Linked DNA regions of Homo sapiens: regions 1 and 3 are each linked to region 2. The links are contacts of gene promoters, found by promoter capture Hi-C in human tissues and cell types (Jung and others, 2019). All regions are on one chromosome and are shown on one strand. Each heading gives the region's core, a stretch centred on a gene start or on the middle of the fragment in contact. The rest is flanking DNA. Distances are from core to core; before and after follow the strand shown. Region 1 holds the start of RNASEH2C (ribonuclease H2 subunit C). Region 2 overlaps PACS1 (phosphofurin acidic cluster sorting protein 1). Region 3 holds the start of SNX32 (sorting nexin 32).

Evidence for each region. Contacts are between HindIII fragments. The study calls those that stand out against the background at their distance.
Region 1: the fragment with the promoter of RNASEH2C here is called in contact with a fragment that was not itself captured in region 2 in 1 of the 25 tissues and cell types used here (mesenchymal stem cells).
Region 3: a contact is called between the fragment with the promoter of SNX32 here and a fragment that was not itself captured in region 2, in 5 of the 25 tissues and cell types used here (IMR-90 fibroblasts, adrenal gland, dorsolateral prefrontal cortex and 2 more).

Annotation. Positions count from the first base shown.
Region 1 is chr11:65,718,868-65,722,912 of GRCh38, forward strand. RNASEH2C (ribonuclease H2 subunit C) reads right to left here and starts at 1,931. Exons shown (of 4, transcript NM_032193.4): 1 at 1,720-1,931; 2 at 1,375-1,550; 3 at 1,178-1,297; 4 at 1-942. The coding sequence starts at 1,891. The coding sequence ends at 916. KAT5 (lysine acetyltransferase 5) reads left to right here. Exons shown (of 13, transcript NM_182710.3): 12 at 6-87; 13 at 180-737. The coding sequence ends at 314. RefSeq lists a silencer at 1,617-1,856 and an enhancer at 2,007-2,076. The HindIII fragment of the contact is 7,035 bases long and covers 1-4,045 here.
Region 2 is chr11:66,116,297-66,120,456 of GRCh38, forward strand. The region is part of intron 1 of PACS1 (phosphofurin acidic cluster sorting protein 1); the gene reads left to right. Among named protein-coding and RNA genes, the nearest start is that of PACS1, 48 kb to the left of the region's middle. The HindIII fragment of the contact is 5,164 bases long and covers 1-4,160 here.
Region 3 is chr11:65,831,523-65,835,584 of GRCh38, forward strand. SNX32 (sorting nexin 32) reads left to right here and starts at 2,441. Exons shown (of 13, transcript NM_152760.3): 1 at 2,441-2,579. The coding sequence starts at 2,544. LOC124902693 reads right to left here and starts at 2,277. Exons shown (of 7, transcript XM_047427980.1): 1 at 1-2,277. The coding sequence starts at 1,989. The coding sequence ends at 373. RefSeq lists silencers at 1,993-2,122, 2,296-2,508 and an enhancer at 2,433-2,522. The HindIII fragment of the contact is 13,089 bases long and covers 1-4,062 here.

The DNA.
Region 1 (4,045 bases), core at 681-3,180, 400 kb before region 2:
CACAGTGAGATTAGTGAAATCACCAGCATCAAGAAGGAGGATGTCATCTCCACTCTGCAGTACCTCAATCTCATCAACTACTACAAGGTAGGGAGGCAGGCAGGGGAGACAGGTGTGTGGGATGCAGAGTGCAGTCCTCTGTGGGCTGACCACCTGCTGAACCCATCTCCTCTGCCCAGGGCCAGTACATCCTCACACTGTCAGAGGACATCGTGGATGGCCATGAGCGGGCCATGCTCAAGCGGCTCCTGCGGATCGACTCCAAGTGTCTGCACTTCACTCCCAAGGACTGGAGCAAGAGGGGGAAGTGGTGACCAGACACTGCCCACTGCAGTGCCAAGACGGCAGCAGGACTGGGGCTGATAGCCCACCCCGCCCCCACTGCAGCTCCCACAAAGCACTCTAAGGGAGATGGGGCTGAGGACAGCTCAAAAAGGAGAGGACAGGCCTGGCAGGGGCCCACTGGTGCCCAGCACCAAGGCGAGCTCCGGGCTCAGACCAACTCCAAGGTCAGCTGGCCACAGGCCCAGGCCTCCTCTGAAGCAGGGACCAGAGGGAGCCAGGCAGCTGTGTACAGTGAGAAGGGATCCGGATGGGGGAGCTCTGTACAGAGGGCTGGTGATTGTAAAAATTTCTTTTGTAAAGTAGAAGTTGGGGGTGGGGTGGGTGCTGGCTGCAAAAATTTCTGGCTTCTCTTACCCCTATTGCCCCCGGCAATAAATTGTTTCTATATGCCAGAGCCATGCAAAGTTCTTGGTGGGGAGGGGGAAAGGGCCCATGCTGGCTTAGGGGCTCTAAGGCGCCCAGACTCACAGGTGCTGTGAAGAGCTCCTTTATTGGGGTGATGGAATCGGTTCCAAAGAGCTGGTTTACTGCTGTGAAGGGATCGCAGCTTTGAATTTCAAGCTCTGGTTCTCAGTCCTCGGGCACCTGTGCGTGAATCTGCAACAGGAGTCGCCTCTACTGTTGGACTTGTAAGACAGGGCGGCAAGCTGGCCCCCATACCCGAGGAAGGACCCAGCTGTTCAGAATAACCGCTTCTAGACATGCTAGGAAGAGTGGTCAGGGAGCTACGCTTCCCACACACTACCCAGTAGAATCCTCCAGGCTCCGTCTGCGCAATTGTGCTCCCCAGCCCATCCACCCGGGGGCAAGACGGAACTCCTCGTCTACTCACCGCTGCCGCAAGGCTGGGCCAAGTTAAGGCCCCACGCACTTTGGCATCCGGGCCAGGGATGGTCTCCAGACCCCACAGGGTGAAGCGGCTGAAGTTGGCAGTGGCTCCAATGAAGCGGTCCTGGGGAAGGGGCCTGGCTCAGCATCGGGACTACAGCTCCCGCCCGCACCCCCTTTCAACCCTATCCCTTTGCTCACGAAGTCCCGCTCCAGCGGCTCCTCCTCTTGGTCGTCAGTCCCGGAATCCCGCAAGGGGTCTGGCTTCCCCATCGACACCTTCTTCTCTTCTGTCACCATCACGTATCCCACGAGGCCAGGCGGCACCGCCACCTCCTCTCCCCGTAGACAGCGGCCCCGAAACGACACTTCGAGTCCTGGAGCGGGAGGCGCAAAGGGCCTCAGGCAGGACCCACGCTGGGTCGAGCCCGGAGCTGCCCTCCCGCCACCTCCGGACGGACCACGATCCCCAGGAGCCCAGGCGATGAGAAGCGCGCAGGCCGGCGCGGGGGCTGCCGGGAGCCGTAGTCCGGCCGCAGGGCTCACCCTCGGGGCCCTGGCGGATGGCGGGCGTGAAGAAGCGCCCCACCGGGGCGGGCCCGTCCACCGCAACCTCGCAGGGCAGCAGATGCAGTGTGGCGGGTACGGCGTCGCGCAATGTGGCGGAGCGCAAGTGGACGCGGTGCCTCTCGATGGCCGCTTCGTCGCCGCTCTCCATCCTCCCTCCTACGCGACGCCAGGGCTCGCGAGCTGACACTGAAGCTGGCGCGGAAAGCGCGCAGGACCTCTCAGGAAGCCTCCGCGGGGCCTCACGGGAAGCCGCCGCGGAGCTTCACGGGAAGTGTAGTCCCCTTACCCCCTAACGCTTTCCCTGGGTTCAAGTCCTAGGGTTTTCCAGTTGTGTTTTGTTTTTTTCCTTCCTTCCTTCCCCCCTCCCCTCTTTCCTCCCTCCCCTCTCCCCCTCTCCTTCCCCCTCCCCCCTCCTTCCCCCTCCCCCCTCCCCCTCCTCCCTGCCTCCCTTCCTTCCCCCCTTCCCTTCCCTTCCTTCCCGTCCTTCCCTCTTTCTTTCTTTTTCTTATTTATTATTATTTTTTTTTGACAGAGTCTCGTTTTGTCGCCCAGGCTGGAGTGCCAGGCACGGTCTCAGCTCACTGCAACCTCCGCCTCCCGGGTTCAAGCGATTCTCCTGCCTCAGCCTCCGGAGTAGCTGGGATTACAGGCGCACACCACCATGCCCACCTAATTTTTGTATTTTTAGTAGAGACTGGGTTTCGCCATGTTGGCCAGGCTGGTCTCGAACTCCTGACCTCAGGCGATCCTCCAGCCTCGGCCTTCTGAAGTACTTGGATTACAGGCGTGAGACACCGCCCCCAGCCGGGTTTTTTTCTTTTATTGTTTTTAATGGCACATGTCGTTGTAAAAATCTAAAACGATTCTGAAAAGTACTCTTTTTATATTGATTAGTAGGTAGGTTATTCATTTTTAGTTTATTAGGGACATCAACCCTTTTCTTAAATGCATTGAAAATGTTTTATCTGTGGTCTGTCTTGCAAACCTGTGTAAAGGTGATTTTTGCTGGACAAGGACTTATTTTTGTGGTTGTTTGGTCTTTTAGACAAGGTCTCACTCGCCTAGGCTGGAGTGCAGTGGTTTGATTGGCTCACTGCAGCCTCGACCTCCCAGGCTTAATCCATCCCCCATCCTCAGCTTCCTGTGTAGCTGGAACCACAGGCCTGCGCCACCACGCAGCTAATTTTTGTATTTTTGGTAGAGGTGGAGTTTTGCCATGTTGCCCAGGCTGGTCTTGAACTCCTGGACTCAAGTGATCTGCCCACCTTGGCCTCCCAAATCACGCTGGAATTACAGGCGTGAGCCACTGCACCCAGGACAAAGACTAATTTTTTGTAGTCAAATTTATCAACACTTTTCAGTCTTTTAGATTTCACAATTTTCTCTCTTTGGTTTCTCAGCTCTTCTCTAATGTTTATTTGTTCAGACACCCAACTTAGATATATTTTTTCAAGTTCTCACATAAAACAAACACAAAACTGGAAATTTAGATTTAAATTGCGTTTAATTTATACATCCCTGCACATCTGGGAGCTGGCCTTGGTATTCTGTTGAATATAAACAATTTCAGAGAACATCAGCATCGGACAAGGTCACTCTGTGACCGTGAGGGAGCAAGACAGAAACAGAACCACTCCATCGTCACATCTGAATGCTGGCAAAGGTGAACACTGTCCAAACCACAAAAGGCATGAAACATCCCTCTTTCTCCCATAAGAGAGTGACTGTTGTTTCCTTACCAATTACAGCATTAGCCTCCAACTAATCTTCTCTCCTTCTGGGCAAGACTCATTAAGATAGTCCGTCATAGACATACCCCCACCTCTGACAGCATCCAAGCCAGAGAGAAGCCTGGCTTCCCTAAACCCTGACTGAAATCACTGAACATGGGCACAAATCCTCCTATAAGTCCTTTCTAGCACCCTCTTATTGAAATTCCCCAGAGTGCAGGAGTAATATACCCAATTTGTTCAACTGCAGATGTATTCCTGGTGCTCTTTCACTAGAGTGGCAGATTAATTTAGAAAAAGGCTTGCTTTAGTTTTCTATCAGGAAAGACATAATTCAATTTATTCACATCTCCTTGGATATCTGTACAGTTGTGAGGTTTTGTTCATATATAATAGCTATTAATACATATTGTAAAGTTTATTTCTTCTTAGCTTATATTAATAATTGTTTCTATTAAGAACTGAGGGGCTGGGCATGATGATTCACACCTGTAATTCCAGTGCTTTAGGAGGCCAAGATGGGGGAGGATTGCTTGAAGCCAGGAGTTTGAGACCGGCCTGGGAAACATAGC
Region 2 (4,160 bases), core at 329-2,828:
TTCTTTGCCCTCAGTCGTTAGATATTAGGTCTACTGTGGTTGAATGAGACTGTCTACAAAAGGGTTCCAGTGCTCACCAAAAGCTGTTTGTAAATACGAAGTATTACATATTATCTTTCCTAAGGTTGTGAGAACCTAGAAGAACTGCCTTTGATTAATGCTAGAAAACAGCTCTTATGAGACATAAAGTTCATTTAATAATCCCACAAATGCTTACGAGCAACTATTCTATACCAGGCAGTTTTCTAGCTTTTTGGAAATAGAGTGGTGAACAAAATAGATGAACATCTCTGCCTTCATAGAACTTAGATTCTAGCTGGGCACAGTGGCTCACGCCTGTAATCCCAGCACTTTGGCTGAGGCAGGTGGATTACTTGAGCTCAGGAGTTCAAGACCAGCCTGGGCAACATGTTGAAATCACATCTCTACCAAAAATACAAGATATTAGCCAGGCGTGGTGGTGTGTGTCTGTGGTCCCAGCTACTCATAAGACTGGGGTGAGAGGATCACTTGAGCCTGGGAGGTGGAGTTTGCAGTGAGCTAAGATCGTGCAACTGCACTCCAGCCTGGGTGACCAAGTGAGACTCCATCTCAAAAACAAAAAAAAAAACAACTCAGATTCTAGTTGGGGAGACATATACTAAATAAGATAACACAAATAAAGGGCAGTATATAGTGAATTCAGTAGGGACAAATGCTGGGTAGAAAAAACTAAGCAGGGGAAGAAGACAGGAAGTGTCAGGAGTAGTACTGTGGCTTTATTATTATAAATTGTTTCCTTTTAAAAACGATGTGTATTATGCATTAAAGCATTGCTCTGAGAAGGGGTCCTCTGACTTCTCCAGACTGCCAAAGGGACCCTGGCATTGAAAGGGTTAAGGAGGCTGGGCGCAGTGGTTCACACCTGTAATCCCAGCACTTTGGGAGGCCTAGGTGGATAGATCACTTGAGGTCAGGAGTTTGAAGCCAGCCTAGCCAACATGGTGAAATCGTGTCTCTCCTAAAAATACAAACATTAGCTGGGCATGGTGGCGGGCACCTGTAATCCCAGCTACTCAGGAGGCTGAGTCAAGAGAATCGCTTGAACCCAGGAGGAGAGGTTGCAGTGAGCCGAGATCGCACCACTGCACTCTAGACTGGGCAATAAGAGGAAAACTCCATCTCAAAAAAAAAAAAAAGAGAGAAAAGAAAGAAAAAGAAAAGGTTAAGGACCCCTCATTAGAGTTACAAGACCAGCCCTCAACATGTGATTAAAAGATGTTTGTTATGGCCGGGCGTGGTGGCCCATGCCTGTAATCCCAGCACTTTGGGAGGCCGAGGCAGGCGGATCACCTGAGGTCGGGAGTTCGCGACCAGCCTGACCAACATGGAGAAACCCCATCTCTACTAAAAATACAAAATTAGCTGGGCATAGTGGCGCATGCCTGTAATTCCAGCTACTTGGGAGGCTGAGGCAGGAGAATTGCTTGAACCCAGGAGGTGAGGTTGCAGTGAGCCGAGATTGCGCCATTGCACTCCAGCCTGGGCAACAAGAGTGAAATGCCATCTCAAAAAAAAAGAAAAAAAAAAGATGTTTGTTTCCTCTTTGATGCTTTATGTGATAATGATGCGGTAGACTTTCCACATATCTCCCTATTATATCTGGTAATTGTGGCTTTAAATTATTTGAAGCTGTCATTCACTTTTGAGACTAGTGTTTGTAGGATGTTTTTTCCATTTGTGTTCTGTAGAACCCCAGGGTACCCTGAAGCCTTTTTGGCACATGTGGGGGTCATTTTAAACGTATGTTTGGATTATTCATCTACGTTAGTCTAAACAAGTAATCAGATGCCTGGCTTTGAGGTAGGTATAAGTAAAGAGAATAGACTAAGGGGTTGGTGCATATTTATGGAACATAAACAGCATAGATGGTTAACAGATGCTACACACAGGTGAACCACTGATTTAACCTGTTATGTGTATGCCATTGAGCCACTATCAAGACCTTGAGCTGCTACCTAGTGTCTGTATAAAGATAAGAATTTCCAGCCAGGGGCCGGGCGCTGTGGCTCATGCCTATAATCCGGGCACTTTGGGAGGCTGAGGCAGTAGGATTGCTTGAGCCCAGGAGCTCAAGACCACCCTAGGCAACATAAGGAGACCTTGTCTCTGCAAAAAATGAAAATATCAGCCAGATGTGGTTGTGTGCACTGGTAGTCCCAGCTCCTTGGGAGGCTGAGGTGGGAGGATCACTTGAGCCTGGGAAGTCAAGGCTGCAGTGAGCCATGATTGTGCCACTGTACTCCAGCCTGAGTGACAGAGTGAGATCTTGTCTCTAAAATATAAATAAATAAAAAGGATATTTTCTAGGCCAGGCGTGGTAGCTCACGCCTGTAATCCCAGCACTTTGGGAGGCTGAAGTGGACCAATCACCTGAGCTCAGGAGTTTAAGACCAGCCTGGGCTTAGGCAACATGGCGAAACCCCATGTCTACAAAAAAAAAAAAAAAAAAAAAAAGAAAGAAAAAGAAAAAAAGATATTCTGAGCTTATTTTCTCGTTATTTCCTTCTCTCCCTTCCCAAATATTTTTTTGAGCATCTGTGTCAGCTAGGAATACAGAAACTAAAAAACATTGCTTGCCCTTGTGACTGGGGAGATATAGACAATTGAATAATCAACCACAACATGTTATAGTAAGTGCTAAGATAAAGGTAGGCACAAGTGTCAGGGAAAACACAGAAGTGGGATGCCTGAGCTGAGTGGGAGTGGGGGTGGCCCAAGAAGGCTTCCTGAACCAGTGGCACCAGATGGACAAGGGAGAGGCCCCCTACTCCCTGCTTGTCCTCTGCTCTCTTCTGACCGGTAGCGTTAATACTTCTTTGGTTTAATGCAGGATCACCAGACTCTGTGGCCCACGACCTGTTTTTGTGTAGCCCATAAGACATACCTTTCTAAGTACTATAGCTGAAAAACATCAAAAGAGTAGTAATATTTTGTGACATGTGAAAATTATATGAAATTCAAATTTCTGTCTGTAAACCTCACTGGAACACAGCCATGCTCATTCGTTTGTATATGGTCTGTGGCTGCTTTCTCCCTACAACGGTAGAATTGAACAGTTGCATCAGAGACCTTATGGCCTGCTAGGCCAGAAATGTTAAGCCCTTTACAGAGAAAGCTTGCTGGCTCCTGTTTAATGCTTTAACTGCCCTACTGAAAGGCAGGAGGTTGAAAAAATGATGGTAGTCAAAAGGAATGCATGAAATCCTGTTGTCTTCTGTTAGCTGATTGCAAGTAGTACACAGGATATATTTGAGACATCTCTTTTCCTATCTCCCACCAAAGGATAATTCAGGCGGATCTCAGTGCACAGGCACAGGCATTTGCCTCATTCTTGTTTTGTCTGTTTTGAATTTAGTTATGGGAATATTTTAATATCTCTCAAAAATAGGGTATCTGGTGTGAGTCAGAATGATTATAGAACATGCTTGCCTGGAGAACAGGAAATGCGGGATCCACTCCTGGTGTGCTGTTAGCTGAAGGACGTCAGAACTGTCCTTTAACCTCCCTGCAGGTCTCTAAATGGTAGGATTGTTTGGGGATTACACTAGATCATCTCTAGGCACCGTTCAGCTCAGTAGAGACATTGCTGCATGGTGGAAGGAGTGACCTCAGTGTGAATCCTGGTTCTGTCCCTTTCTGCCCAGGAGACCTTGAGCAGCTTATCTAAATGCTGTGTGCCTTTGTTAGCTCATCTGAAAATGTGGCTGTAAGAATGACCTCATGAGAATGGACTGAGATCATATTCTTAAAACTCTTGGCACTAATAGGTATTTAATCTACTATAACTGTGAAAATTATGTCTGTGAACTCTTTTTTTTTTTTTTTTTGAGACAGAGTCTCGCTCTGTTGCCCAGGCTGGAGTGCAGTGGCACGATCTCGGCTCACTGCAACCTCTGCCCCCTGTGTGCCACCACTCTCGGCTAATTTTTGTATTTTTAGTAGAGATGGGGTTTCACCATTATTGGCCAGGCTGTTCTTGAACTCCTGACCTCAAGTGATCCACCTGTCTTGGCCTCCCAAAGTGCTAGGGTTACAGGCGTGAGCCACTGGACCCAGCCTGAATACTAATTATATACTTCATTTTAATCAAACTCAATTTGTGAAATAGCTGGATTTAG
Region 3 (4,062 bases), core at 1,191-3,690, 280 kb before region 2:
CCTTCTAGCCCATCCTCCATCCTTTTCTCAAACATTTCCCTATGAGCTCCCAGTCACACCTTTTCTCCCAATATCCAAGTGTCCTCTGTCAACACATTACCAAGTCTTCTCTTTCTCCTCCATATGTTCCCACTTCCCTCTGAACCAGAGACTCCTCTTTGCTTCCTTTGATCCTGGCCTCCGCCTTCAGCCCCAGAAGCTCTTTTCCTCACTTCCACTCTCTTTTATTTTAGGCTCAGACTCTCTCCTTTCCTTTCTCAACTTTACCCCTTCAGTGTCAATAATGTTCTGTCTGGCTCTAATTTCTCCTCTGACTTTCAGTACTTCTCCTGTCTGCCTCTTTCCTTCTTTGGTGTCAATCCTTCATCTGCCTCATTCACTGGTACCTTCACCTATAATATCTTTTTTTTCCATAGAAACAGATTCATCAGTGATATCTTTCACTTCACTCAAGATGCCCCCCTCAACTCCCACTCCTTTCTCAGTCCCTTGTAGTTCCTCACTCCCTTTGACACTTTCAAAAGGAATTTCCATCTCATCATGAGTAAATGCCATCACTCTTTCATCGCCAGTAACTTCTACCACTTTTTCAATGTTCTTCTCATTTATGCTCCCCATTCTTGAACCCTCCAATTTCTCCCCGCTGGTCCCTAACTTCTCCTCACTAGATCTCAGCTTCTCCGCACTTGACCCCAGCTTCTCTCCACTCAACCTCAGCTTCTCTCTGCTTGATCTCAGCTTCTCTCCACTGGTTCCCAGCTTCTCTCTGCTTGATCTCAGCTTCTCTCCACTCAACCTCAGCTTCTCATCACTTGTTCCCAGCTTCTCTCCACTCAATCTCAGCTTCTCTCTGCTTGATCTTAGCTTCTCTCCACTCAACCTCAGCTTCTCTCTGCTTGATCTTAGCTTCTCTCCACTCAACCTCAGCTTCTCATCACTGGTTCCCAGCTTCTCTCCACTCAACCTCAGCTTCTCTCTGCTTGATCTCAGCTTCTCTCCACTCAACCTCAGCTTCTCTCCACTCAACCTCAGCTTCTCATCACTGGTTCCCAGCTTCTCTCCACTCAACCTCAGCTTCTCTCTGATTGATCTCAGCATCTCTCCACTCAACCTCAGCTTCTCATCACTGGTTCCCAGCTTCTCTCCACTAGTTCCCAGCTTCTCTCCACTCCATCTCAGCTTCTCTCTACTTGATCTCAAATTCTCTCCACTTGATCTCAGCTTTCTGCCACTGGACCTCAGCTTCACTCCACTGGACCCCTGCTTCTCTCCCCTGCACACCAGCTTCTCACTAGTAGACCTCAGCTTCTCTACACTTGATCTCATCTTGTCTACACTAGACCTCAACCCCTTCTCATCCTGTCCCAGTTTATATCCATTGGATCTCAAGTCCTCTCCACTGGTCCCTACCTTCTCCCCAGCAGACCTCAACCTCTCTTCAAACCCAGACCCCTTCATAGGCCCTGCTGTCATCCCTGCACTCTTAGATTTAGCCTTTATTTCGTGTTTGACCTCTTGCTTTCCCCAAATACCCCTTGGGCTGTCTTTCCCCAAATCTGCTGAAGCTTGTGATGCACTTGCTCCACGGTATAGCAGCTTCACATCCATCCTTTCCTGACTCGGGCCTGACTTCCCTTTCAAGACCGTCTTTTCCACATCTTCCAGTCTCCAGTACTCAGACTCCAGCTTCGGCTTTCGAGTGTTTCTAGTCAGGAGCTCCACTCTCTTCCCAATTACCATGAGCCCGTTCCAAGGTCCCCAGGTTTTCTCTCGCAGCATCGGCACCCCCTTGCAGCCCCGCTCCAGTGGCGACCGTTCGCGGACCCCGGCCTCGCTTGGGGCGCCCTGGCCGCGGGACTTGTGGAGCTCCCTAGTCCTCCTAGGCTGCTTACCCCGCCGCTCCCTCCCGTCCAAGAGCGGAAACCTAAACAGACCCCCCTTCTCCACAGACATTGTCCCCTGCCCTCGCCCCTGGTCCACCACCCACATCCCCACCACTGCTTCCCATTCCCTGTCCCCACCCTGCCACCCTCACCCTCTTCCCCTTCCCCTTCCCCTTCCCCACTGCCTGGTGGGCGCCAAACTGGGCGAGTGCGCACGCGCAGGCCGCACGTGGCCGTTGGAAGGAGGGGCCCGGAACGGCGGCACGGGGTTGTTGTGGGGGTCAGTCCCCCGGGGACTGGAGGGAGACGCGGCACGCGGCCTCTGCGACCCTATGAACTCTGACCCCAGCTCCCACACTGTCGCCTATCACCGGCCCACTCTCCGTGCCGCGTGTCCCTTAAAAGCTGGGGCCTGGGACAGGAACGACAGACAATGCAGCCAATGGCGTCACGCGCGGTGCCCCGCTACCCAATCGAAAGGCGTGGCTGAGGGAAACGCGGTGGGAACCGCCCCCGACTCCAGGCGACTCCTTGGCCGGGCGGGGGAGAGCGTCCCCGTCAGCTGAGAGCATCCTCACTCGGTCAGTTCCTCGGGCGAGTTACGGGGACGACCTGCGGGAGCACGCGGGCAGTGGCCGGACGCTGAAGCCCAGGAGAGCGATGGAGACGTATGCGGAGGTTGGGAAGGAGGGCAAGGTAGAGAAAGGATGAAGACCCCCACCCCAGCCTCCCCTCACTCCATGAAAGCCCGTGATGCCCAATCATGCGGTGGTGTGTGTGTGTCTGTGTGTGTGTGGTCTGCCTCTGTGTGTTTCTGTGTGTGTCTGTGTGTGTATAGTCTGCATGTGTCTGTTTCTCTGTGTGTCTGTGTGTATGTCGATGTGCCTGCATATGTCTGTGTGTGTGTGTATCTGTGTATGTCTGTATTTGTGTCTCTGTGTGTCTGTGTGTCTGTGTGTGTCTCAGTGTGTGTCTGTGTCTTTGTGTGTCTCTGTGTATCTGTGTGTGTGTCTGTGTGTCTCCGTGTCTCTGTGTGTGTGTGTATGGCCTGTGTGTGTCTGTGTGTGTGCACGTATGCGTCCATGTGGGTGTTTGTGCGTGCATGTCTGTGTCTGTCTCTGTGTGTGTCTGTGCATGTCTGTGTGTGTGTGTCTGTGTGTCTGTGTCTGTGTATGGTCTGCGTGTGTCTTTGTGTCTGTGTCTGTCTGTGTGTATGGTCTGCATGTGTGCATGTATGCATCTGTGTGTGTCTCTGTGTGTATCTGTGTGTGCACGCATGTGCCTGTGTGTGTCTGCGCAGGTCTGTGTCTCTTTGTGTCTGAGTGTGTGTCTGTCTCTGTGTCTATGTATGGTCTGCGTGCATCTTTATGTCTGTGTGTGTGTGTCTCTGTGTGTGTGTATGGTCTGCGTGTGTCTGTGTGTGTGTGTCTGTGTATTTCTGGGTCTGTGTGTGTGTTTGCATGTGTCTGTGTGTGTCTGTATCCGTGTGTCTTTGTATATCTGTGTGTGTCTATGTCAGTGTGTCTGTGTGTGCATCTGTGTGTGTCTGTGTGCCTGTGTATGATCTGTGTATGTCGTTGTGTGTGTCTGTGTGTGTGTTTCTCTGTGCCTGTGTGTTTGTGTGTGTCTGTGTATCTGTGTGTGTTTCTATGTGTGTCTGTGTGTGCGTGTGTCTGTGTTTGTCTCGTGTGTCTGTGTGTGTGTATGTGCCCATGTGTCTCTGTGTGTATGTGTGTGTCTGCGCAAGTGAGAGAAAGGAGACTTGAGCAAGGGAGTGGGGAGCCTCTGTGGCACCTGTGTGCGGACTGATGAGGATGCCAAGGGAGGCAGGGTTTTGCCTTTGTCCTTACAGATGGAAAGGGACCCGTCACTGTCACTCTTACCCTCCCCAAGACCAACTCAGGCTGTCTTGATGGGGGTAGGTGGGTAGGGGGTGGGAGGTGAGGGCGGGGAGGAGGGCAGGATGTTAGGGATTGAGCAGAGGCTGGCATCCTCTTCTCCTTTCCCAAGGCGAGAGAATCCTGTTCAGCCCTAATGGCTTCACTTGTGTTCTGAGTTCATGTAATGATAAGACCATTTCTTCCTTTTGACTTCCTTCAGCAAAGAGTTGTCGAGCATCCACGTTGTGCCAAGGATGGTTAGAGCATGGAGAGGTGCACCCTTTTGGGAGATGGAGGCA